Linked DNA regions of Homo sapiens: regions 2, 3, 4, 5, 6 and 7 are each linked to region 1. The links are contacts of gene promoters, found by promoter capture Hi-C in blood cells and fetal thymus (Javierre and others, 2016). All regions are on one chromosome and are shown on one strand. Each heading gives the region's core, a stretch centred on a gene start or on the middle of the fragment in contact. The rest is flanking DNA. Distances are from core to core; before and after follow the strand shown.

Region 1 (3,398 bases), core at 464-2,963:
AAGCTGAAACTTGAAGGACAAATTTTACCAGGTAAACTATAGACACAAGGACATTGCAGATTCTAAACGACAGCATGTCCAGAGGAAAGAGAAAGCACAGGATGTCGAAAACATTGTAGGTGCATGTTAAAAGAGGCTGTCTATTAAAAGAGAGTGGCAGACACAAAAGATGTGCTGCTCAGACCTCCCTTAAAGAAAGACTCACTGCCCAGCTGTAAGGCGTGTGGTTAGATGAACAGCCTACGGCTGTTGGGTTTATCAGGTTTGTCTAACTGTTGAGCCAAGGACCTGCTATTCTTGGAGTGCTTCCTCCAGCCAAAAACTGAGCAAACAGTGATAGCCAAGGCCACTGTTTTCTTGGGGAGATCCTGGCCAATGATTGACGGAGCAAGGCAGTAGTACAAGGGGCTACGCATTTCCTGATGCATAATTTTTGCCCTAGCACTTCCAGTTGGACTTCAGAGACTTCGCCAGCTTGGAATTGTAGTGTCTGCTTTTTTAGAGCACCAGTCTGAAAAAAAAATAGTGAAAAAGCAAGCTGCAGAGTGGGAGAAGGTATTTGCTACATATATAAACAATATAAAGCTCAGATGCAGAATATATATAAATAACTTGAAGGTGTTAAAATAAAGACAAGGCCAGGCACAGTGGCTCACACCTGTAATCCCAGCACTTTGGGAGGCCGAGGGGGGCGGATCACAAGGTCAGGAGATCGGGACCATCCTGGCCAACATGGTGAAACCCCATCTCTACCAAAAATACAAAAATTAGCTGGGTGTTGTGGCGCATGCCTGTAATCCCAGCTACTCGGGAGGCTGAGGCATGAGAATCACTTGAACCCAGGAGGCAGAGATTGCAGTGAGCCGAAATCGCGCCACTGCACTCCAGCCTGGCGACAGAACCGAGGTGGGCAGATCATGAGGTCAGGAGATCGAGACCATCCTGGCTAACACGATGAAACCTCATCTCTACTAAAAATACAAAAAATTAGCCGGGCGTGGTGGCGAGCGCCTGTGGTCCCGGCTACTCGGGAGGCTGAGGCAGGAGAATGGCGTGAACCCGGGAGGCGGAGCTTGCAGTGAGCCAAGATCGTGCCACTGCACTCCAGCCTGGGCGACAGAGCAAGACTCCGTCTCAAAAAAAAAAAAAAAAAAAAAAAAAAAAAAAAAAAAATGAAGCGTTTGTTGAACACCATGTTGCTCTTCCCAGAAACCAGGTAACTAGTATGATTTTATTTCAGGACAATCAACTGAGCAACTTCTTGCAGGGTCAGGGGCAGAGGGTAGAAGTGGTATTACAGCACCTAGTTTATTGCCTTACAATCAATAAATAGAGGGTGAATGAAAAGAAACCCAATAGTTAAAGTGTAAGCTAATTGGTACTAACTACAAATATGGGTTGAATGAAAACAAACCCAACATGCTTTAGGTTTTTTAATACAATCTTATCCACATGAGTTTAGGGTCTTGTCCTATCACCTTGGCTTCTGTTCCCTTTCTGTATTCATCACAGGAAATTTTCAAGTTTTATGAAACCAGCTAGAGCGGAGTTTTATTAACCAGCTGAGGGCGGACTAAAGACTTAACAGACCTGGGCGAAGAAGCAGCACTCCTACTTACTAGGGCAAGACTCATGAACAGGGGGCGGGGGCTCCGGGGGCGGGGACGCGCCCCGTTCTCTTTCGCTCTTCTTCCCGGCAGCCTTAGCGCCAGGCCCGGCGCTCCTCAAGATGGCTGCCGACAGTGAGGTGATTTCTTTGCTCCCTACTTAATCCTTGTCACTATCTAAATTCGTTCCTCATGTCTTCGCCTTGGGGCTTAATTTCTTTTTCTCTCCTTCCCCTTCCCGCAGCCCGAATCCGAGGTATTTGAGATCACGGACTTCACCACTGCCTCGGAATGGGAAAGGTGAGTGAATCGCATTTTTGGTTACCAGCTCCCATGGGCCCTGGCGTCCCCTAGCCGCTTCCCTGACCCCAGACACACCACAAGTGACGCCACTTGTGCGGGAACGGTAATACCGTGGGTCCCGGGTCTCCTCCCCCAGTCTTCTTTGGTCAACCGCAAGCCTCTTCCGCGTCTCGCGTCTGGCAACACCCGGCCCGCCCCCGTCAGCCAATCCCTGAGGCTCAGGCTCTCAGAAAGTTTTGTTTTCTCTCCTGTCAGACCGCTTCCCTTAGACTTTGGTTTTCTGGTTGTTACCCACTCGCAAGAAAAATTTCCGAGGCTGCAACAACCGTTCCGGTTTTCATTACCGTTTAACTCATTATCGTAAGCAGTAAACTTGGTAGGTTGTGCCGCACCTCATCCCGTGTACGTTGGTATACCCTTTTCAGGAGGAAGTCTTTCTTCAGAGTATTGGTAGTTGTCCATCTGTCACACTCCCACCATCTCCATGCTGTCTTTAATTTTTTATTTTTATTTATTTTTGGAGACAGAGTCTCAGTCTGTCCGCCCAGGCCGGAGTGCAGTGGCGAGGTCATAGCTTACTGCGGCCTCGAACTCCTAGGCTCAAGTGAAGCTCCCGCTTTAGCCTCGGGAGGAGCTGGGACCACAGGCACGCGCTATTACGCCCAACTAATTTTTTAAAGATCTCGCTGTGTTGCCCAGGCTAGTCTTGAACTCCTGGGCTCAAGCCTGGGCCGCCCAAAGTGCTGAGATTACAGGCGTGAGCCTCCGCCCATCCTGTCTTTTAGAATAACCTTTTTAAAAAGTCTGCATATGGTTTTGGAATGCTTTGATTTAAGTTGTTACATTAAAGTGGGTACTGTGCCCAGGCTTCCTGTGCCTGTCAAATTCAGATGAACAGCTGTCTGGGTGAAACTGTTCTATTACTGAAATTAGTTGAAAGCCAAGTTTGTGGAGGAGTGATAGCTTAGATCGAGAAGGTTTCTGTTAAGTGTCACAGAAACCCTTCAGTTTCCTGGGTGTTGAAGTCAGTGTTTACGCTGTTACAGCATTTTATAATCTTTCTGGTTGGGAGAGGAAATTTGTGGATGTCGTGTCATTAGGTGGCACAGGAAAATATAAAAGGTCCTTGTTGGAATAATAGTTAGACCTGTGGTACCCTTCATAAAAGTGTCAGTAAGACATAACCACACTGGCAAGACTTCATTGAGTAGGTACTGGGTGTCCAGAGCTATATACAAAGGGAAAAGCAGAAACTTGACCCATATATTTTTAAAAAACAACAAACAGCAAATAGTTAAAATGTAAGCCAGTTGGTACTACCTGTAAAAATAATAATTAAAATAATTATTATTTAAATAGGGGTGATATTGTGGACTACAATAGTTGGAGATATTTTCATAGAAAAGATAGGAAATGAGCTGGGCCTTGAAAGTGGGAAGTGGTTGGTTAAACATGAGAATGGACTGACATGGGTAGAGACATAGGTGA
Region 2 (3,398 bases), core at 585-3,084, 680 kb after region 1:
CTATCATAAAGTTATTACCAACTGTAGAAATTTGGAGTATGAACATACTTATTGTCAGGCAACTAAAAATAGAAGGTTATGTTTGGTGAGATAAATTTGTTTTTAGCTTATGTATTGCACACCCAATTGTCCACTTAGGCTCAAACGCTTTATAGACATCTTTTCCCTTTGGTTAGCCAAGCAAAGTCACCCCGTTGGGAAATCTAAAAGGTAGGGGTCTGCCAACTGCAGCTTTCCTGGAGTCTGGTTATCTTCCAGCCCAGACTAGGGCTTCTACTATGAAATTGAAGAGCACTAGGTGTTACCAGACTCTGGTGCAGATGTGCACTCACTTTAGCACATTTGCAAGGTCCCACTGGTCCCAGAGAATGCCATGCCTCCCCACCAACTAGCACATCCCAATTGTGAATATTGTACTCCTGGGATCAAAAGTTGAAGCTGTCTTAGAACCATTTTAGATTAAGGAGCCATAGCCAGGGAAAAGAGTAAGAGTGTGAGGTCTGTGAAAATCTCTTGCTTCCAAGGCTTGTTGAATTTTAATTATTTTTGACATGCAGAGAGTCAAAGATGGAGAGGACACGTAAGTAAGGCTAGCATTTCAGCAACAATTCTTCAATCATACATGGGGATGGAGACCAAAAAAGTCACAACCTCCCATCCTGGCCAACATGGTGAAACATTGTCTCTACTAAAATACAAAAAAATTAGCTGGACATGGTGGTGCGCACCTGTAATCGCAGCTACTTGGGAGGCTGAGGCGGGGGATTTGCTTGAACCCAGGAGGCAGAGGTTGCAGTGAGCCAAGATCGTGCCACTGCACTCCAGCCTGGTGACAGAGCAAGACTCGGTCTCAAAAAAAAAAAAAAGTCACAACCTCATGGTTTCTGGCAATTATTTTTTTTTTTTCTTTTGAGACCAGAGTCACTGTATCAACCAGGCTAGAGTGCAGTGGCACGATCTCAGTTCACTGCAACCTTAGACTCCTGGGCTCAAGCAATTCTTCCTCAGCCTCTCGAGTAGCTGGGATTACAGGCACCTGCCACCATGCCCCACTAATTTTTGTATTTTTAGCAGAAACAGGGTTTCGCCATATTGGCCAGGCTGATCTCGAACTCCTGACCTGAGGTGATCCACCCGCCTCGGCCTCCCAAAGTGCTGGAATTACAGGCATGAGCCACTACACCTGGCCTGCAATTAGTTTCTCTTGAATATTCCCTTTAGACCAGGCACGGTGGCTCATGCCTATAATCCCAGCACTGGGAGGCCGAGGCGGACGGATCATTTGAGGTCAGGAGTTCGAGACCAGCCTTGCCAACATGGCAAAACCCCATCTCTACTAAAAACACAAAAATTAGCCGGGTGTGGTGGTGGGGTGCCTATATAATCCCAGCTACTTGGGAGGCTGAGGCAGAAGAATCACTTGAACCTGGGGGGCAGAGGTTGCAGTGAGCCGAGGTTGCGCCACTTCACTCTAGCCTGGGCGGAAGAGCGAAACTCCGTCTCAAAAAAAAAAAAATTATCTTTAACTCCTGCAGTAGGAATTCTGGTAAACCAGTTTTTGCTTTAAACTCTTAGTTTACCTTGTAGGAATTGAATACTGTGCAAAGTAAATAGGTAAGACACTAGAGCTAAAAAAAGATCAGAGGCTATTGTAGAGTTAACTCCTAGCCACCACCACCACATTCCCTGACAATCACATGGAAATAACAATGAAATTGGCCAATCCCACCACCATTACAAAAATATGCACACGTTCCCTAATCTACATTCCCCCCTTTTTTTTTTAATCTAAAGTCTGATTTCCCCTGTATAAAAATGGTGGGAGGTAGAAGCACACACAGGAGGCATTTAAGATGTGATTTGGTCTAGACTGGTAATCTCAAAGACAGCTTTCGATGTCCCATAGCCCTGGCAATAATCCTTATCATGGGTTTTTCCAGACCCCTGACCATTTTTAGGGGTAGATATTGCTTTTTTTTTTTTTTTTTTTTTTTTTTTTTTTTTTTTTTTGAGATGGAGTCTTGCTCTGTCGCCCAGGCTGGAGTGCAGTGGCGCGATCTCTGCTCCCCGCAAGCTCCACCTCCCAGGTTCACGCCATTCTCCTGCCTCAGCCTCCCGAGTAGCTGGGATTACAGGCGCCCGCCACCATGCCTGGCTAATTTTTTGTATTTTTAGTAGAGATGGGGTTTCATCGTGTTAGCCAGGATGGTCTCGATCTCCTGACCTTGTGATCCGCCCGCCTCGGCCTCCCAAAGTGCTAGGATTACAGGTGTGAGCCACCCCGCCCGGCCAGATACTACTTTTACCAATAAAGTGTTATTCTTTCTTGTGCCAATATTAGCAGCTCCAGCAGTCCTTTCTTTGGGAATGATAGAGGTCAGTCCATAACATTCTGTCTGTTTATGCTACTTAATATTAGAAAACTGAGAATGACTTATGGTTTGAAGCTCTTGGTTTGCAAAGAACATGGATATATTGGGTACGTGTTTGTGATCTAGAGTACAAGGTGTGTTTGCCATGGTGCCACAGGTAATTAAAAATTATTAGGTTGGCATCAGAGCTGGCAACAAAATAGGGATGTGAGCCTTTCCCAAGCTAGGAAAATGTTTTCCTGACCCCACTAGGTAGGGCCTTATGGCCTGTGAATAGTGTGGCAACACAGGCCTCTGAGTAGAACCCACAGTTCCAGATTAGCTTGGGCAGAGTAAAGTCAGCATATCTGCAGCTACCTCAGGAAACAGCTGAGTTGGATTCTCTACCTGTTACCAACAACAGAAAACATGCAAACTTAAGACTTCAGCAGAGGCAAGACCCCCTAATCCCAGACCACTGCCTGCCCAACAGATAATATGTTATCTATAGTCTCCAAAGGCTAAGGGCATGAGTTCCGTCTTCTAGGGCCCAGTGAAGTGCTAGCACAAAGGCATTATATACATGCTGGTGGGATTCAAAGCTGGCCCCTGGTTGCTTGGGATTCTAGAAGACCTTTAACAGCTGGTGCTAAAAGAACCTGAGTCTCTTGCACACACATTCAGCCCATGACCTTCACCGGCTTGAAAAACAGATACAGCTGCCCTTGAATCCACCCCCACATCCACATATGCTCAGGCTACACAGTGCATATTTGTTCATTATTTTTCCCCTCAATGTCTCTACTTGTATTCATTTTGGTTTGATTTCACCCACATAAGAATACTGGAGGGCTGTAAAGAAAAGGCAGTGGGAACTTCTGAATCAGAAAGAAAAATGATAAAAGTTTGTTCTTTGGGGGTTGAGGAAGAGGAAGCATTGAAATAGATACATTAAATAGTTTTTTAATTAATTATTTATTTATTTTTTGAGACAGAGTCTTGCTCTGTTGCCCAAGCTAGAATGCAATGGTGCAATCTCGGCTCACT
Region 3 (3,398 bases), core at 573-3,072, 650 kb after region 1:
CCTCAGCCTCCTGAATAACTGGGATTACAGGCACCCACCACCACGCCCAGCTAATTTTTGTATTTTTAGTAGAAATGGGTTTCACCATGCTGACCAGGCTGGTCTCGAACTCTTGACCTCAAGTGATCCGCCTGCCTCAGCCTCCCAGAGTGCTGGGATTACAGGCATGAGCCGCCACACCCGGCTGAACTGAAGGTTTATATTGCAGAATATCAGCATAAACATCTTCAAATGGCCATACTCTGACATCTGCTGAAGTTTTCTGAAGCAGATTCAAATTGTTTCATTGAAATTAACTTTCTACTATAACATTTAAAAGCTAAACTTTTCAGTTTTCAAAAAGCATTTTAAAGTATTGTTTATAATTACAAAATGCATGCATGCTTTTTTTTTTTTTTTGAGACAGAGTCTCTTTCGCCCAGGCCAGACTGCAGTGGTGCCATCTCGGCTCACTGCAACCTCTGCCTCCCGGGTTCAAGTGATTCTTCTGCCTCAGCCTCCCAAGTAGCTGGGATTACAGTCATGCACCACCACACCCAGCTAGTTTTTGTATTTTTAGCAGAGATAGGGTTTCAGGCTAGTCTCAAACTCCTGACCTCAAGTGAGCCGTCCTCCCCGGCCTCCCCAGATGCTAGGATTACAGGCATGAGCCACCACACCCAGCCTCTTACAGAGTTTTAATGTAGCTGAAATCTTACTGTATATATTTCACTTATTGGTCATAGTAAAAATTTTTTCATCCTATTAAAAATTCATTAATATAATTTAATGATCATACTCTTACATTTTATGAATATACAATAATATATTTACCCTATTGCAGAACATTTAGGTCGTATCTTTTTACTTTATTGAACCATCTTGTAAGCAATTTTAATTACTCCCTTGGCATGAGTCCTTAGAAGGGAATTAGTAGGTTAAAGGATGTGACTGTTATTAAGGTCCATGGTACATTTTGCCAAAATCTTTGATTCACAGTCCCAATATGTACTGACTCCGCTTTACTGTTTTCACATTTCATAAATGGCAACATGTATTAATTTGGCTCTGTGATTATTAATGAAGTTGTACATTTTTATGTTTGGCTGTTTACACTTTGAATTATTTGGCCAAATCTTTCATCATAGTTTGGTAAGGCAAGTGCTAATTGCATGTTTAAGTGCTAATGGCATGTTTGTTGATGAAAGAGCTGAAGTTCAAATAACATGTTCAGACTCATATAACGAATAACAAGTAGAGTTGGAACACAGCCCTGTGCTCCCTTCTGACACCCAAATACATGGTGCTTTGCCCTAGGTCAGGTATTAAATGTCAAAGGCATTAAAATAGCAATGTACTGTCACTTGAATTTGCAAGATCTAGTGAATATATCTTAATATCAAGCATTGATATTGCTTGATATTAAGCAGTGGTGGGCGCTTGTAGTTAGCTACTCGGGAGGCTGAGGCAGGAGGATCACTTGAGCCCAAGTGTTCAGTGCTTCAGTAACCTATGATAACACCACTGCATTCCAGCCTGAGGAATAGAGTGAGACCTTGTCTGTTTAAAATAAATAAATAAATAAAATCACACTTTGATAAAGTAAGTTTCTAACTTTAAAAATACATTATATTTGTCATTTTTTTTATCATGGCTTCAATTCCAAAACATGGTAAGAATGAATAACTAATTAACTGGAGAGAAGGGGAATTTCTCTGAATTACCCTATAATGTTAAAGGAATAAGATGAGCACTGTAAAAAAACTCAGAAGAAGGACCGGGCACAGTGGCTCACGCCTGCAATCCCAGCACTTTGGGAGGCCAAGGCTGGCGGATCACGAGGTCAGGAGATCGAGACCATCCTGGCTAACATGGTGAAACCCCGTCTCTACTAAAAATACAAAAAATTAGCCGGGCGTGGTGGCGGGCACCTGTAGTCCCAGCTACTCGAGAGGCTGAGGCAGGAGAATGGTATGAACCCGGGAGGCGGAGCTTGCAGTGAGCCAAGATTGCGCCACTGCACTCCAGCCTGGGTGACAAAGGGAGACTCCATCTCGAAAAAAAAAAAAAAAAACTCAGAAGAAACCTGTGGGATATCCTATAATGTCTTTCATCAATCTCCAGTGATCTTGTAGAAGCATTTCACAGCAGTTTGTCTGGCTCTACCTTACGTAGAGAAGAGGCAGCTCCTAAACAGGAAAAAAATATTGGTAATAATTTTTATTGCAGTGGCCTTAATACAGTTGAAAGTGGATATTTTGATTTTTTTTTTTAGTTTACATATCCATAGTTTTGTTTTTGTTTTTGTTTTTGTTTTTGTTTTTTTTGAACATTCTTGGGTGTTTCTCGCAGAGGGGGATTTGGCAGGGTCATAGGACAGTAGTGGAGGGAAGGTCAGCAGATAAACAAGTGAACAAAGGTCTCTGGTTTTCCTAGGCAGAGGACCCTGCGGCCTTACGCAGTGTTTGTGTCCCTGGGTACTTGAGATTAGGGAGTGGTGATGACTCTTAACGAGCCTGCTGCCTTCAAGCATCTGTTTAGCAAAGCACATCTTGCACCGCCCTTAATCCATTTAACCCTGAGTGGACACAGCACATGTTTCAGAGAGCACAGGGTTGGGGGTAAGGTCATAGATCAACAGGATCCCAAGGCAGAAGAATTTTTCTTAGTATAGAACAAAATGAAAAGTCTCCCATGTCTACCTCTTTCTACACAGACACAGCAACCATCCGATTTCTCAATCTATTCCCCACCTTTCCCCCTTTTCTATTCCACAAAACCGCCATTGTCATCATGGCCCGTTCTCAATGAGCTGTTGGGTACACCTCCCAGACGGGGTGGTGGCCGGGCAGAGGGGCTCCTCACTTCCCAGTAGGGGCGGCCGGGCAGAGGCGCCCCTCACCTCCCGGACGGGGCGGCTGGCCGGGCGGGGGGCTGACCCCCCCACCTCCCTCCTGGACGGGGCGGCTGGCTGGGCGGGGGGCTGGCCCATTCATAGTTTTATGTCAGGACTTTTCAGGAAGTTTGGGGATAAATGGGATTATTTGAGATTGATGTTTCATTTTTCTGTTAAAGGGTAGGATATCAACTTTGAATGACTAGGCCTGGTGCTTTACTTTAAAAGTCCTTCTTTCCCTCCTGTCTTCCAAAGGAGGAGAAACTTGTGAAATTACTATAGAACTGATTCATCTCTGGTATAATATATTTGTATTTTTAAAGAGAGAGTGTAAATACTGACTTCTGTGCTTTCTTTTTTCTAAAGTGTTTAAGTGATTTAAGAGGGTGTCTCATTGCCTAGTCTATGTCCCTTGAATTATCTATACGTCTCTCAGAAGATAAGTAGAGGCCTGGAACTCATTTACATAATTCTAAAACTTGATTCTTACTCATTTACCTAACGGGTAATCTAGTGCTAGAAA
Region 4 (3,398 bases), core at 597-3,096, 630 kb after region 1:
GCATAGAGTCAGAGCTTGGTAAATCTATACTGAATGAACATATTTCTTTTGTTTTGTTTTGTTTTGTTTTTGTTTTTTGTTGTTGAGACAGAGTCTCACTCTGTCGCCCAGGCTGGAGTGCAGTGGCACGAACTCAGCTCACTGCAAGCTTCACCTCCCAGGTTCACGCCATTCTCCTGTCTCAGCCTCCCGAGTAGCTGGGACTATAGGCGCCCGCCACTACGCCCGGCTAATTTTTGTATTTTTAGTAGAGATGAGGTTTCACCATGTTAGCCAGGATGGTCTCAATCTCCTGACCTCGTGATCCGCCCACCGTGGCCTCCCAAAGTGCTGGGATTACAGGCGTGAGCCACCGCTCCCAGCCGAACATATTTCTTAAATGTCAAAGGCCAGCTTGCACATGTGTATATGTACATAGACATCATTAACTGTTGGACTCAATTTTATTTTGTTTCTATAACCTCTCTATGCTTTTTAAATTTTTCATCAATTTTTAAAATTACAAAACAAATAATGCTGTTAATATAAGTGAAGCAATACAGAGATGTGTAAAGGGAAAGGTAATCATCATGCCCTGCTCCACCCCCCATCCCCAGGTAACCAGCATTCACAGGCTAGGGTGTGTTCTGTCACATTGGCCTCCTGGCTACACAAACAATACACGCATAAATACTCATATGAGGAATTGGGTGGTGAGTTTTAGTGAAATACACATTCTCTTGCGTTTTTTTTTTCTTTTCCATTTTATTCTTTGTTTTTGAGGTGTCTCACTCTGTTACCCAGGCTGGAGGGCAGTGGCATGATCATGGCTTACTGCAACCTTCTCCTACCAGGCTCAAGCAATCCTTCCACTTCAGCCTCCTAAGTAGCTGGGACCACAGGCACGCACCACCACACTCAGCTAATTGTTTATATTTTTGGTAGAGATGGGGTCTCACTATGTTGCCCAAGCTGGTCTCGAACTCCAAGGCTCAAGCAGTCCTCTCACCTCTACCCCCAAAGTGCTAGGGTAACAAGCATGAGCAACTGCTCCCAGCCTGCATTTTTTTCATAATAATGTATCATGAACATCAGATTAGTAAATACTAGTATAAAACATCCTGTTTTGTTTTTCTAATTTCTTGACAAACATAATTTTATATAAGTAATATTATGTCATCCTGGCAGTTTTTTATTGTCCTAACCTTCTCTCTCCCTACCCTACCACTGGACCATTTCCCACACACACACATGCTAGTTAACCCGTGTTTCTCTCCTGGTTTCTGTCCTTCCTTCCTCACTTTCCTTCTTGTGCTTATTCATATACTAACACAGATATGGTACGGCAACATGAACAAAATAGCACACATACACACACTCAAATTGAGTTTATAAATAGTTTTGAATATAAAATGTCTACAACTTGGTTTTGGTTTCTTGTAGGAGCATATCATGTCTGACATGTGATGGGAGAATCCATTCACATTTAATATTACAACTGATATACCGAACTTTTTTCCACCAGCCTGTATTTGTTTGTGTATTTCACCACACTGTACTTGTAACTGATGACTAATTGGTTAGTCTTCTGCTGTTTTCTCAGATATTTATCTGAGAAATTTCTCTAAATACATGCTATATTCATTGAGACTCTTCATCATGGAATCCCACTGATCTGATACCAGGGAATATGCTGGTCCAATAAGCTAATTTTTCAGATAACTAAAACTCATGCCTTTAAATATTAGTTATTAGGTGGCATGATATGGTTAGAAAAATGGGCTTTGGAATCATAAAAACCTGTCTTCAAGCCAGTGTGACCTTGGACAAGTTATTTATTTGTACTTTTGTTTTCTCATTTGTAAGACAGAAATACCTTCCAGGACTGGTGGAAGGAATTACATGTCTAGAACTTTGTATATGGAAACTGCAAATTTGCCAGCTGTATATCTGATATCCAAAATATTAAGGAAATCCTGTAATTCAGAAAAAAAAAGGGTTAAAGAGTTGAATAGAAATTTATCCAGAGAAGACATACAAATGGCAAACAGGCCAGAGAAAGGATGCTTGATATCACTAATCATTAGAGGAATGCAAATCACAACCGTAATGAGATATCACCTCACACCTGTTAAAATGGCTGTTATCAAAAAAATCAAAAGCTATTAAGTATTGATAAGGATGTGGAAAAAAGGGAACCCTTGTAACACTGTTGTTGGGAATGTAAAATGGTGTAGCTGCTATAGAAAACAGTACAGAAGTTCCTAAAAAAAATAAAAATAGAACTATCATTTGATCCAGCAATTCCAAATACTTCTAGATATTTATGCAGAAGAATTGAAATCAGTATCTCGAAGAGAGATTTACATCTCCATATTCATTGCAGCATTATTCACAATAGCCAAGATGTGGAAACAACCTAAATGTCAATTGGTGGATGAGTGGATAAAGAAAATGTGGTATGGCTCATTCCTGTGATCCCAACACTTTTTGAGGCCAAGGCATGAGGATGGCTCGAGCCCAGGAGTTTGAGACCAGCCTGAGCAACACAGGGAGACCCCATTTCTACAAAAAATTTAAAAAGTAGCTGGGTATAGTGACAAATACCTGTGAAGCTAGTCTACTCAGGAAACTGAGTTGTGGGAAGATAACTTGAACCTGGGAGGTCAAGGCTATAGTGAGCCATGATTACGCCACTGTATTCCAGCTTAGGCGACAGAGCCAGACCCTCTCTGAAAGAAAAAAAGGTTATATATGTACTGTAATGGAACATTATTTAGCCTTTAAAGATGGAAATCCTGCCATATGTAACAATGTTGATGAACCTTGAGGACATTATGTTGAGTAAAATAAGCCAGTCACAGGACAAATACTGCCTTATTCCACAGTATGACCTCTAAAATAGTCAAACTTGGCTGGGCGCAGTGGCTCATACCTGTAATCCCAGCACTTTGGGAGGCCAAGGCAGGTGGATCACCTGAGGTCAGGAGTGTACACCAGCCTGGCCAACATGGTGAAACTTCATCTCTACTGAAAATACAAAAAACTAGCCGGGCATGGTGGTGCCGGTAGTCTCAGCTACTCAGGAGGCTGAGGCACAAGAAGCACTTGAACCTGGGAGGCAGAGGTTGCAGTGAGCCGAGATAGTGCCACTGCATTCTAGCCTAGGCAACAGGGCAAAATTCTGTCTCAAAAATACAGAAAATAAAATAGTCAAACTTGTAGAAGCAGAGAGTAGAATGGTCATTGCCAGGGGCTGCAGGGAGGGGGAAGTGGAGAGTTACTCTTCAGTGGATATAACATTTCTTTTATGCAAGATGAATGAACTCTGGAAATCTGCTATACTACATTTTGCCTATAGTCATATTGTGTTGTACACTTGAAATTTTATTAAAAGGGTAGCTCTCGTGTTTAAAACA
Region 5 (3,398 bases), core at 398-2,897, 610 kb after region 1:
GATTAAAAATGAGAAATACTTTTTCATATCTCTTATATTTGTATTTCTTGTCAAACAACACTTGCTTACCCCACAGTGTCAAGAAGCATGTTTTTTTTTAATTACATAAAAGGGTGAAACTAATTATTCAACCAAATAATGAAAACACTAGTAGACTTGGAGCAATTTTTTTTCACTGTGGCACAAGTAATGTTTAAAAGTTTGTATTTGAACTTAAAGAAATTTTGCCCTAAATTAACAAGCCCAACTGAGCAAAGTATTTTTAGACCAGATAGGGTATGGGCAGTAGAAATACAGGATCTTTCATTATTTTTCCTTTGGTGGATAGGGAGGAGGATGGGGAAATATCTCAAGGATAAAATGCTCTAGGTCTTTTATCCATGTGTCCCAGTGGACCACAACTGAAATCAGGACTAACATTACTGCTGGGGAAATGAATGTACTAGTCTTTTGTTATGAATGTGAAACTACTGAACTGTTCATTCAAAACAAGGTTGAGTAAACCCCTGTCAACAGAAACAGAAGAAACCCTGGCTACACACATAAGACTTTCTGAACAATGCACTGTATAATGGGAAAGAACAACAAAATAAAAGTCAGAATCCTGATGGCCCTTAGTCATTTGTAACTGGTGTTAGGCATATCACTTAAAGCCACTGAGTTTCAGTTGGACTCATTTGCAAAGTATGGAATTTTTACTGTGTTGTCTGTTGAAGCCTCTGTGTACTGTAAAACTCCATAATTCTTTGTGTCTCATGTGAGTCATTTCTAGTTCTAAAAGGTAGAATAATAGAGAATTGGTTTGTAACAGCTTGGCAACCAACTGTCAATAACTGGAGTCAATGAAAGCAACTATTTCAAAAGATCAGATTACTTACCAGTTTCACTAATAAAGATTTATTACTTTAAACCTTTATCATAAAATGTATGCTTTGAATACTGTGAAGTACACTGCATATAAGGAGTGTGGTATAGTATAAAGAAACTTTCTGCAGGTAGTAATTATAGTGAAGATTTTAGGTTTACAAAGCCCTAGCTGTTTTCTGTGTAGCTTTTATTATTCTTATGACTCTTGACAAGTTTGTAGCTTCACCATATACATTTAATATTTTGCAATAATTGGCCTTGTTCCTGAGCTGTTGGATTCGGGGCCGTAGCACTGTCTGAGAGGTTTACATTTCTCACAGTGAACCGGTCTCTTTTTCAGCTGCTTCCTGGCTTCTTTTTACTCAGGTTTCCACTGCTTTTTTGCTTTTTTTAATGCTGTATGAAGGTGTTAACATTTGTTTATATTTTTCATTAATTGTAATACCTTTAAATCATGCATCATACTCAGAAATAGGGATTAGAATTTAAGTGACATCTTTGGCCTAATATAATTTACCTGTTAAAAATTTGTGAAAGCTATTGCTTATTTCTTTTCCAAAGTAGATTTGGATGACAAATTCAGTTTGGTTTTGAGCTTATCTAAAAAGCTTAATGTTTTAAGCATACCAAACTCATTAGCAGAAGTCAAATATGTCTCTCCCTATTGCTACACAACTTTTTAGGGATATTGTTATATATGAAAGCATGACATCAAACGGACCTAATACACCTAAATGCATTTGAAGCTACTTGGTCTCGGTTCTTACCAACGATATAATTTAATTTTTTTTTCCAAACGATGATGTTGTTGCATACCTGTGGAAAGCAAAATGATTCTGTGAAACTATACTTTTAGTTTTGCAACCATTTGATAACTTCAAAGATTATCAATGTATTATATCTTTAGTCTTAGCTTTCCAGATAACCCAGAATCATATGGTTCCAAGTTGATTAAGCTTTGTTACCAGCAGACTATGGTAGGATCCTGATGAACGACACTATGGAAGAAACTTGTTAGGATAAACAGTCTTCAATGTGTGCATATTGTTGACAGAATTTGAAGGCACAAATTTAAGAGTAACTAGGGTGTAAAAGGCGAGCAAAGAAAAGTCAGCACTACTGGGTAAGCAGGTGAGGGGGCTTATTGATAGGAGAGTCGGCTATGTCAAATAGGGACTCAAGGCACAAAGTCAATTTCTTTACTGACAACTTTCAATCCAAGTAATAGGAATTTTGTATTTGTAAATTACTAGGTAGTGGCTCTGGCTATTCTTGTTTTTTCATTGATTTCTGTGAGCATTTCTTAGTATGTATTGTGTGATTCAGCATAGATTCAGACATTGTATAATACCTACAAATCCACCTATTTCCCTTTTCCCTTCTCCATTAACCTGCCGCCACTGAAATCTGGAGCCAAATATATCTGGTAAGTACCCACAGATTTCCTTGAGTTGTATAGACTCTTCCATGGAATAGTTCTTTAAATAGCTGTGAGCAATAAACTCTGTGTGACTGTTTTTGTTAGAATTGGTTTTTGTATATGTATATGTTTATTTCAGGCACAGGAGTGAGAGAAGAGGGGATGAGAGATGAGAAGGGATAATCAAGTGTGATGGCAATTGCATCTCCTTCCAAATACACCCATGGGGCTGGCTTTAGTTGAACTTGCCCACCTACTAAAATAGTGCCACAGACAGAAGCCCAAGATTATAAGCTTGAGGTTTTAACAATTTGGTCTTGTAGATGCCTAGTTACAAATAAATTTGGCTTTAGTAAAATGGCTCATCTTTAAAAAAAAAAAAAAAGAAAACTACCTTCACAGTGCTTCTATTGTACAAGCACAGTCTGGAAAAAAAATTAATAGGTACTATTAAGTGAAATAACCTTAGATTCATGGGTATTCTAAGCATTTCTTTAATACTTTTTGTAATTTTTCTGATTATTTCTGTGTTATTAAGAATGCTTTCCTTTAGAACAAATGCTAGTTCAGATCACCTATATAAAATAAAATCAGCCTGTTAATGCCTGTTCAATACTTTTGTGCTGAGCACTGCATTTCCTTCCTGCTCTCTTCTTGGTTAAAGTGAGAGTTAAAAATAGAACATTCTGTGGAGCCCTCCAGGGAAGTTCCTGAACCATCAGTTTATATTGTCCTAGTTCTCTTAGCTTGCAGAATTGATTGTGCTTTCCTCTGAAAGTGCTGAAAGAAATGGGATAATATTGCAACAGTGCAGTCCTTTAACAAAACAGAATGGTAGTGTTTTAAAAAAAAAAATCTATGTTGAGATCTGGATATTTATTTTGTTGTTTGGTATCACTTACTATTGGCATTTCTTACTTTACAAAATAGAGGCTTTCCCACAATATTGACGTAAATTCCTATAAAAGATATAGTGTTTTCCTCTACTTTCCAGATTAAATTCAGATGTATCACAGGAAGAATTTTTTTTAATTCTAATATACTAAAATATACTTTTTAGTGAAGAAAGAATAATTTATGTGGTAGCCAAGTTGGAGTCGGGATACTGGAA
Region 6 (3,398 bases), core at 433-2,932, 560 kb after region 1:
AGATTAAAAGTGAGATAAATACATGTGTAAGTCTATGAATATTCTCAAGCATTACGATAGGAACAATATACAGCACCCCCATTTTATAGACTTTTTTTTAAATTAGCATTTGTTAGATTAAGTAATTTTTCTTAATCTCATTGCTAATAAGCAGAGGCAGCACATTGGTTTTCTGACATGGTCAGTTCCTAACCTTTAATAATCGATTACATTTATGACACACTTTAGAGTTTTCAAAGCCCCTTTGTTAGCTACGCTTTCACTGAATCCTTTCAAGAATCCTGTGAATTAGTGCAAGTAGTATGAACTTTTAGACAGATAAAAGTAAACTGAAGTAATTTGACCATGGTTACCCACTAATAAGAAGCAAATTCAAAAATTTAAGTCCAGCTTTTCTGCATATGAATACAGGATTTACATTGACAGTTAATGACCCCTTTCCTTTTAGAATTTTTAATAGAAGATTTTATACCAGTGATACTTAAAATTACAAGAGATTAAAGCAGAGGACTGGGAGTAAGTCACAAATTATTTTCCCTTCTGCTTCTTCAGAACTCATTTAGGTATGTGCATTTTCATAGTATTCACCTGTTGCTTTTCTCTCTCTTTTTTTTTTCCTGTAATCCCTAGATGGTGGCATCTACCACCTAGACTAGATGGTAGTACAATTTATTTTACTTTTATTGTTAGATGTGAGTTACAGTTAATTAGAAATCCTCTTGAACAAGTTAGAGAGTAGGTAAAAACAGAAGACAATACCAACATGCAGAAGACCTCTTAGGTGGCACTGCCATATTCATGTGTGCGCACACATGCTATTTTCTTCTGTATAAGAAACAAAGTCATTTTTCTTTTATTTTTTCTATTTTCCTTTTGTTGTTCTGTAGTTTGTATAATCTAGGGTTAAAATCCCAAGAATACAGTGCTTTTTAATTTTGAAGAACTTTTGGCTCAAAATGGGAGCAGGACATACTGGTACTGTAGACTCTTGTTTCTGTTGACTCTACAAGGAAGGCCTTTTTGAAATAAAATGATGGGTTTTTTTTTTTAATGTAAAGCATACTAGTCTGGATATTAAGGATTTTGTATCTGTTTTATGTTTGTTACCAGACTGGCTCCCTCATGTTAAGAAGTAAAAATGATAGATACTTTTGCCGTGTACTATTTGGTGTTGGGTTTGGGGAGGAAAATTGGAAGAAAGGAGTGTTTAAAACCTATCTGGCTCTGGTTCACAGGTGCTTCAGCTGGTTTCCCAAACCAAAGCTTGTATCACAAACTTGAGTTAGTTTGCCTTACCGCATTCTCCAATCATGTGACTGATGGTCGGCCTGTCAGTCATGCTGGACATCCGTATTGGAAGTCTGCCCTTTTTTCTTCCTTTCTGCTTCATTGCCTCACCTCAGACCTGATGAATAGGTTTCTATCACTAATAAACTGGTGGTGTACTTTATACAGTGTTGAAACACCTCAGTAGATTTGTGGTTGGACTCTGACTTACTGTGCATTTGAAACATTAAGTTTGGAACTTTTCTGAGTTTATCCACCTTTAACTGCTGGTTTTTGTGTGTGTTCTTTTTCCTTAACCTTGGCTAAACTATAATATGTTGTAAAATAATGAAGTATATTTTATTTCACTACCAAGAAGTCACCATATAAGTTCCATTGTACTCAATTAACACAGAAATTGTGGCCATTTGCTGATTTAAAGAAAAATGCCTAAGAAAGAAAAATAATAAAAATGCCAACCTATCAGGATTTTAAAGAAACTTCTGCAAGTGTGCTTCTGGGAGGAATCAGTACTCCTTTACTGAAACCAACTTTGATTTCCTCACTTTTCATACTTTATGCACAGTTAGTTTTTCTGTGGTTTAGGACTATGAATTAAGAAGCAAATTTTCTGTTTCAGTATGAAATTTAATACAAATCTTTCTTGTATATTCAGCGGCCATTGCAGTCATTTGGACAGACAGGAAAAAGGTCTAAGGTATAGTAAATATTTTGGTGTGCTGGCATGCCAAGGGCCTTCCTTCATGCTTGATGAATCCTTGTTTTCATATAGCACTACATTCAGTTTAGTTCTTCCATATTTTATGGGGGGCAGAAAGCTTATTTTGTTTTATTTGGGATTTTTGTCTTGCCTAGTCGCTTTTGTGCATTGCTTTTTTTATCTTGATGGTTCTTTATCTGTAGAGAAAATCGCTTTCTCACCATTTTTGGGGATATGAAGTTGGAATTATTCCCATTCTTTCTATTGCTATAATTTTCAAAACTGCAAATGTTTGTGTTCCTTCTTAACAAAGGCCTTCAGTAGTGTTTAATGATATATTTAACTTGCACATTTCATCTACTGTTATACATGGCAGAAACTATAAAGAAACTTAGAAACTCTTTCTAGGGGGCTTTTGGATATGCCCTAGATTTCTGAAATGTAGTGTTAATTATAAATACTTCTCTTTAGTCAAGCTCAAAGTTAAAGCTAGTTCGGAGCCTTGCAGTGTGTGAAGAATCTCCACCACCCCCTGCACCAGAGATATCACAGGAGAACCAGGTAAAAAAGCAAAACAAATGTTATTTCAAGACATGGTGGAACTGGAGAATTTTTGTATATGATTTAAGTTGTGTTTGTTATATTTGTTTTATTTTGACTAAATGAAACTTATTCAATAATACTTGGCACCCAAGAGATATATGAAAAGTTAGAAAACCTCTTTGCTTCAATCTAAGGCTTAGAGCAATTATTACTCTTCTGGAAGAACTTAGGAATCATGTAATTAATTAGGAATGTGGCTTTAAGAAAGTTATAAATTAATTTTTATAAAGTTAAAAAATGTTGGTCGGGTGCAGTGGCTCACGCCTGTAATCCCAGCACTTTGGGAAGCCGAGGTGGGCACATCACGAGGTCAGGAGATCGAGACCATCCTGGCTAACACGGTGAAACCCCATCTCTACTAAAAAAAATACAAAAAAATTAGCCGGGCATGGTGGTGGGCGCCTGTAGTCCCAGCTACTCGGGAGGCTGAGGCAGGAAAATGGTGTGAACCCAGGAGGCGGAGCTTGCAGTGAGCCCAGATCGCACCACTGCACTCCAACCTGGGCGACAGAGCGAGACTCCATCTCAAAAAAAAATATATATATATATTAAGGTAGCATTTCCAGTGAATATAATTGTGGTGAAATTTGCCCTTTTAGTTTTACCTTTTAGAAATTTCTCAGATACTTAATGCTTGTTTGTAAAGAGACCAGCCAAGACTTCTTCTTGATAGGTTATTTAACGTAACCTGAATGCATGGTGAAACCAATTTTCATATTAGCTTGGCTCTTTAATAGTTATCTAGTATTTCTAATTTCTCACATATCTATTCTTGTAAAATTTAGAACAGTGAGGTTTAGGCAAACCA
Region 7 (3,398 bases), core at 303-2,802, 540 kb after region 1:
GTCAAGACTGAGTGAGTGATCTTTCTCCTTCTGACCACTTCCCTTTAGCTGATTTTGTACCTTAAAAGCATCTCTAAACAGATCACTTTTGAAAGAATGAATGATTTTTTGAAAAATGAATTGTAAACAATCCAGTATGGAAACAAACAAAAAAAACTATGTTTTCTCTTACATGCCTGTTATCTTAAGCTCTCCTCTCACATCCTTATTATCCATAGCTCAGTTTCCAGGAATCCAAACCTTTTGAATGTTCTTTGCTGTTTATTTCTCAAAGCATGACTAGATGGTAATACCAGTTTGGGTTTTTTTTTTCCTCCATGTAGTTTTTTATTATTTTTTTTTATTTTTATTTTTTAAGAGGCAGGGTCTTGCTGTGTCATCCAGACTGGAATGCAGTGGCGCTATCGTAGTGTACTGCACCCTCAAACTCCTGAGCCCAAGGGATCCTTTCTTGTGGTAGATGGGACTGCGGGCATGTGCCACCATACTCTACCTCCGTGTAGTCTTTTTTTTTTCTTTTTGAGATGGAGTCTCACTTTTTCGCCCAGGCTGGGGTGCAGTGGTGCCATCTCGGCTCACTGCAACCTGTGCCTCCTGGATTGAAGCGATTCTCCTGCCTCAGCCTTCCAAATAGCTGGGATTACAGGCGCCTGCTACCACACCTGGCTAATTTTTGTATTTTTAGTAGAGTTGAGGTTTCACCATGTTGGCCAGGCTAGTCTCGAACTCCTGACCTCAAGTGATCCACCCACCTCAGCCTCCCAAAGTGCTGGGATTACAGGCACGAGCCACCACTCCTAGCCCTGTGTGTAGTCTTTAAAAGAGATTTTACCTCATGCCAATCAGATCATATTACACCCTGAGTTATTTATTTCAGTCCTGCATTTAGCACATACATGGGGAGCTCTCAGTATAACCCTGGACTATGGTAGGTTCAGAATTAAGGCAAAATACATTTTACCCTCACTAGCACTATATTAGGAGGTCATTAACTTCAGGTTTAGAGTTACATTAATGGCCCTGACTTTCTTGCATTGTCTCTTACCTATATCTGCCAATATCTAAACCCCTTTAGAATCTCACCAGGTTATCCCCAGGATTATCCAGGATCTCCTCATGAGCTCAAGAACAGCCGTTTCATGATCTTCCAGTTTTGTCTTTCTCTGGCCCACTGCCCACTACCATTTTGCTAGTGTTTGCCACGAATTAGCTCATGTCCATGCCAAAGGTTGTATCTCTTAGTGTTCCCAACATGTTTAGTCTTCAGGGTACCATATTCTCTAGAATTTTCTTTTTTATTTTATTATTTTATTTATTTTTTTGAGACGGAGTCTGACTCTATCACCCAGGCTGGAGTACACTGGCACAGTCTCGGCTCACTGCAGTCTCCACCTCCCAGGTTCAAGCGATTCTCATGCGTCAGCCTCCCAAGTAGTGGGATTACAGGCGCGCACCACCACACCCAGCTAATTTTTGTATTTTTAGTAGAGATGAGGTTTTGCCATGTTGGCCAGGCTGGTCTCAATCTTCTGACCTCAGGTGATCCGCCCGCCTCAGCCTCCCAAAGTCCTGGGATTACAGGCATGAGCCACTGCGCCTGGCCTTCTCTAGAATTTTCTATGTACCAGCACCATGCCATCCTCAGAGAAGTTAGGCAAGCCATTCACCCGCTTCTGTGGTGGGCTTGGTCACCTGGGCACCAGGAGCTGCTTGTCTCCCACATCTCCCCTGCTTTGGTTCTCCAGTGAAAACACTTCCTTTAGCTTTTGCTTTCATTTAAACTAGGATCACTGCTACATTAAGATATATGTATAGTTCTTTTAGTACTCTAGCATTCCTAATTTCCAGCTTTTTATGTATTGATTTGGCATTTTAAATTACGTTTCTTAAGCTACTATACCATACAGTGATAAAAAGTCAGATCTGGAAATGGCTGTGAAAAAAACATTTAGCCTATTATATAGCCAAGTAGCATCTGAGCTTTCTCATTTGCATCACTCTCACTCATTACAATGCCCTCAGTCAAAGAATTAGAGATACCCCCAGTCTTGTAGTTTACAGACTTCTCCTTAGAAGGACTGTGCCAAAACAGTCCTGAATGTTCGTGTTGGCCTTAATGAACCACCCCTTAGTGACTCAGTCACCATTCTCCACAAGCCCTACAGCCATCCCGGCTCCCTCTCTTCTAGCAAATAGGTTCGGGGTAAAAAAGAAGAAATTTATTAGGTATGAATTCCCTCCTTTTCCTGCCACATTCCCTTCAGTATCTTAGGATAATGTATACATTTCAGGCTTATTCACCAGTTTGTACTTCTGATTACATTTTCTCATTTCATCCACTTTCAGATTTTCCTTCTTATTACCTTTCTTCCCTCCTAAACCTCTAGCCTCTCCCCATCTTTCCTTACTGGCTTCTGTGGCCTACACACTTTTTCATTCTGACAACCTTCCTCTAACTTCGCATCTCCTGGTAACTTTATTACCAAATCATGTATACTCATTGTGATCTTCCACTTTCCTCCTCAATCCTTAAGGGTTCAGTGTTCCCTAGGGATTCTACACCCCCCCCCCTTTTCAATGAAGGCTTGTGGGCAACTTCATTAACATTGATAACTCAAAACTTCAATCTATATAGTGATTCTCCACCAAATAAATAACATTAGCTGACTTCTTTCCTGAGCTCCAAGTCTATATATCCAATTTTCTGTTAGATTTCTCCACCTGAATGTCCTGAAGATACCTTAAAATTAACTGTAGGCAAAACTGAAATCATCGTTCTGCCATCAAATCCATTTTCCTCCCAGATATATTTCCTATATTTAGTGGTAGCAAGCACTACCTGCACCTTCAGTGTGTCCTCTCATAACTCTTCCAGCTCTCACAGCCCTTACCTTTTCCCTGACCACTCATGTATTGAATTGGCTTCCCCCAGTTAGTTACTTGCTATTATATTAATCTATTCATTTCTACATGGAGTACAGGTAGTGGCTGATACCAAGGGCTCTGGAGCCAACACTACCTGAGTTCATATCTTAACTCTACCCCTTACTAGTCTTGCTACTTTGAAAAAGCTGCTTAATCTTCCTCTGCCTCAGCTGCAAACTATGTAATACTGCTTTTATGGGGATTAAATGAATTAATACACTTAAAGCATTGGGAGTAGTGCTTAGTAAATAATAAATAACTCTTTAAGGGTTTGCTGTTAATATTACCAGTTTCACAGCACATATTGCAATCAGTTATTATCTTGTATATTTTGTCTCTGCACTAGAATGTAAGCATTTTAGGTTCTAGGATCCCATCTGCTTGGTTCACTCATGTATCCCTATTACCTAGAACAGTGCTCTGTACATAGTATCCAGTCTGGAGATTGAGTGAATGGAATATCTTTTCTCCTT

What was found. Contacts are between HindIII fragments. The CHiCAGO score rates a contact against its expected background, and 5 or more counts as called.
Region 2: a fragment that was not itself captured here is called in contact with the fragment with the promoter of RAB3GAP1 in region 1 in 9 of 17 cell types (total CD8 T cells, naive CD8 T cells, naive CD4 T cells and 6 more); the score reaches 10.4 in total CD8 T cells.
Region 3: a contact is called between a fragment that was not itself captured here and the fragment with the promoter of RAB3GAP1 in region 1, in 15 of 17 cell types (total CD4 T cells, naive CD8 T cells, activated CD4 T cells and 12 more). The highest score is 11.7, in total CD4 T cells.
Region 4: a contact is called between a fragment that was not itself captured here and the fragment with the promoter of RAB3GAP1 in region 1, in 5 of 17 cell types (M2 macrophages, total CD4 T cells, naive CD8 T cells and 2 more). The highest score is 6.3, in M2 macrophages.
Region 5: a fragment that was not itself captured here is called in contact with the fragment with the promoter of RAB3GAP1 in region 1 in 11 of 17 cell types (naive CD8 T cells, total CD4 T cells, erythroblasts and 8 more); the score reaches 9.0 in naive CD8 T cells.
Region 6: a contact is called between a fragment that was not itself captured here and the fragment with the promoter of RAB3GAP1 in region 1, in 4 of 17 cell types (megakaryocytes, endothelial precursors, erythroblasts and 1 more). The highest score is 6.1, in megakaryocytes.
Region 7: a fragment that was not itself captured here is called in contact with the fragment with the promoter of RAB3GAP1 in region 1 in 9 of 17 cell types (fetal thymus, naive CD4 T cells, activated CD4 T cells and 6 more); the score reaches 11.3 in fetal thymus.

What each region holds. Positions count from the first base shown.
Region 1 is chr2:135,050,579-135,053,976 of GRCh38, forward strand. It overlaps RAB3GAP1 (RAB3 GTPase activating protein catalytic subunit 1), which reads left to right and starts at 1,714. Exons shown (of 24, transcript NM_012233.3): 1 at 1,714-1,747; 2 at 1,852-1,907. The coding sequence starts at 1,730. RefSeq lists an enhancer at 2,287-2,426. The HindIII fragment of the contact is 10,130 bases long and covers 1-3,398 here.
Region 2 is chr2:135,725,472-135,728,869 of GRCh38, forward strand. No RefSeq gene overlaps it. Among named protein-coding and RNA genes, the nearest start is that of UBXN4, 15 kb to the right of the region's middle. The HindIII fragment of the contact is 6,612 bases long and covers 1-3,398 here.
Region 3 is chr2:135,704,094-135,707,491 of GRCh38, forward strand. The region is part of intron 21 of R3HDM1 (R3H domain containing 1); the gene reads left to right. Among named protein-coding and RNA genes, the nearest start is that of UBXN4, 36 kb to the right of the region's middle. The HindIII fragment of the contact is 4,045 bases long and covers 1-3,398 here.
Region 4 is chr2:135,684,025-135,687,422 of GRCh38, forward strand. All of the region lies in intron 21 of R3HDM1 (R3H domain containing 1), which reads left to right. Among named protein-coding and RNA genes, the nearest start is that of MIR128-1, 20 kb to the left of the region's middle. The HindIII fragment of the contact is 3,400 bases long and covers 147-3,398 here.
Region 5 is chr2:135,664,265-135,667,662 of GRCh38, forward strand. All of the region lies in intron 19 of R3HDM1 (R3H domain containing 1), which reads left to right. It overlaps MIR128-1 (microRNA 128-1), which reads left to right and starts at 1,133; the gene lies at 1,133-1,214. It overlaps LOC124907893 (a long non-coding RNA gene), which reads left to right. Exons shown (of 2, transcript XR_007087245.1): 1 at 1-2,293. RefSeq lists an enhancer at 451-550. The HindIII fragment of the contact is 348 bases long and covers 1,474-1,821 here.
Region 6 is chr2:135,614,210-135,617,607 of GRCh38, forward strand. It overlaps R3HDM1 (R3H domain containing 1), which reads left to right. Exons shown (of 27, transcript NM_001378107.1): 4 at 1,943-1,984; 5 at 2,459-2,548. Among named protein-coding and RNA genes, the nearest start is that of MIR128-1, 49 kb to the right of the region's middle. The HindIII fragment of the contact is 842 bases long and covers 1,262-2,103 here.
Region 7 is chr2:135,592,417-135,595,814 of GRCh38, forward strand. All of the region lies in intron 1 of R3HDM1 (R3H domain containing 1), which reads left to right. Among named protein-coding and RNA genes, the nearest start is that of R3HDM1, 63 kb to the left of the region's middle. The HindIII fragment of the contact is 3,984 bases long and covers 1-3,398 here.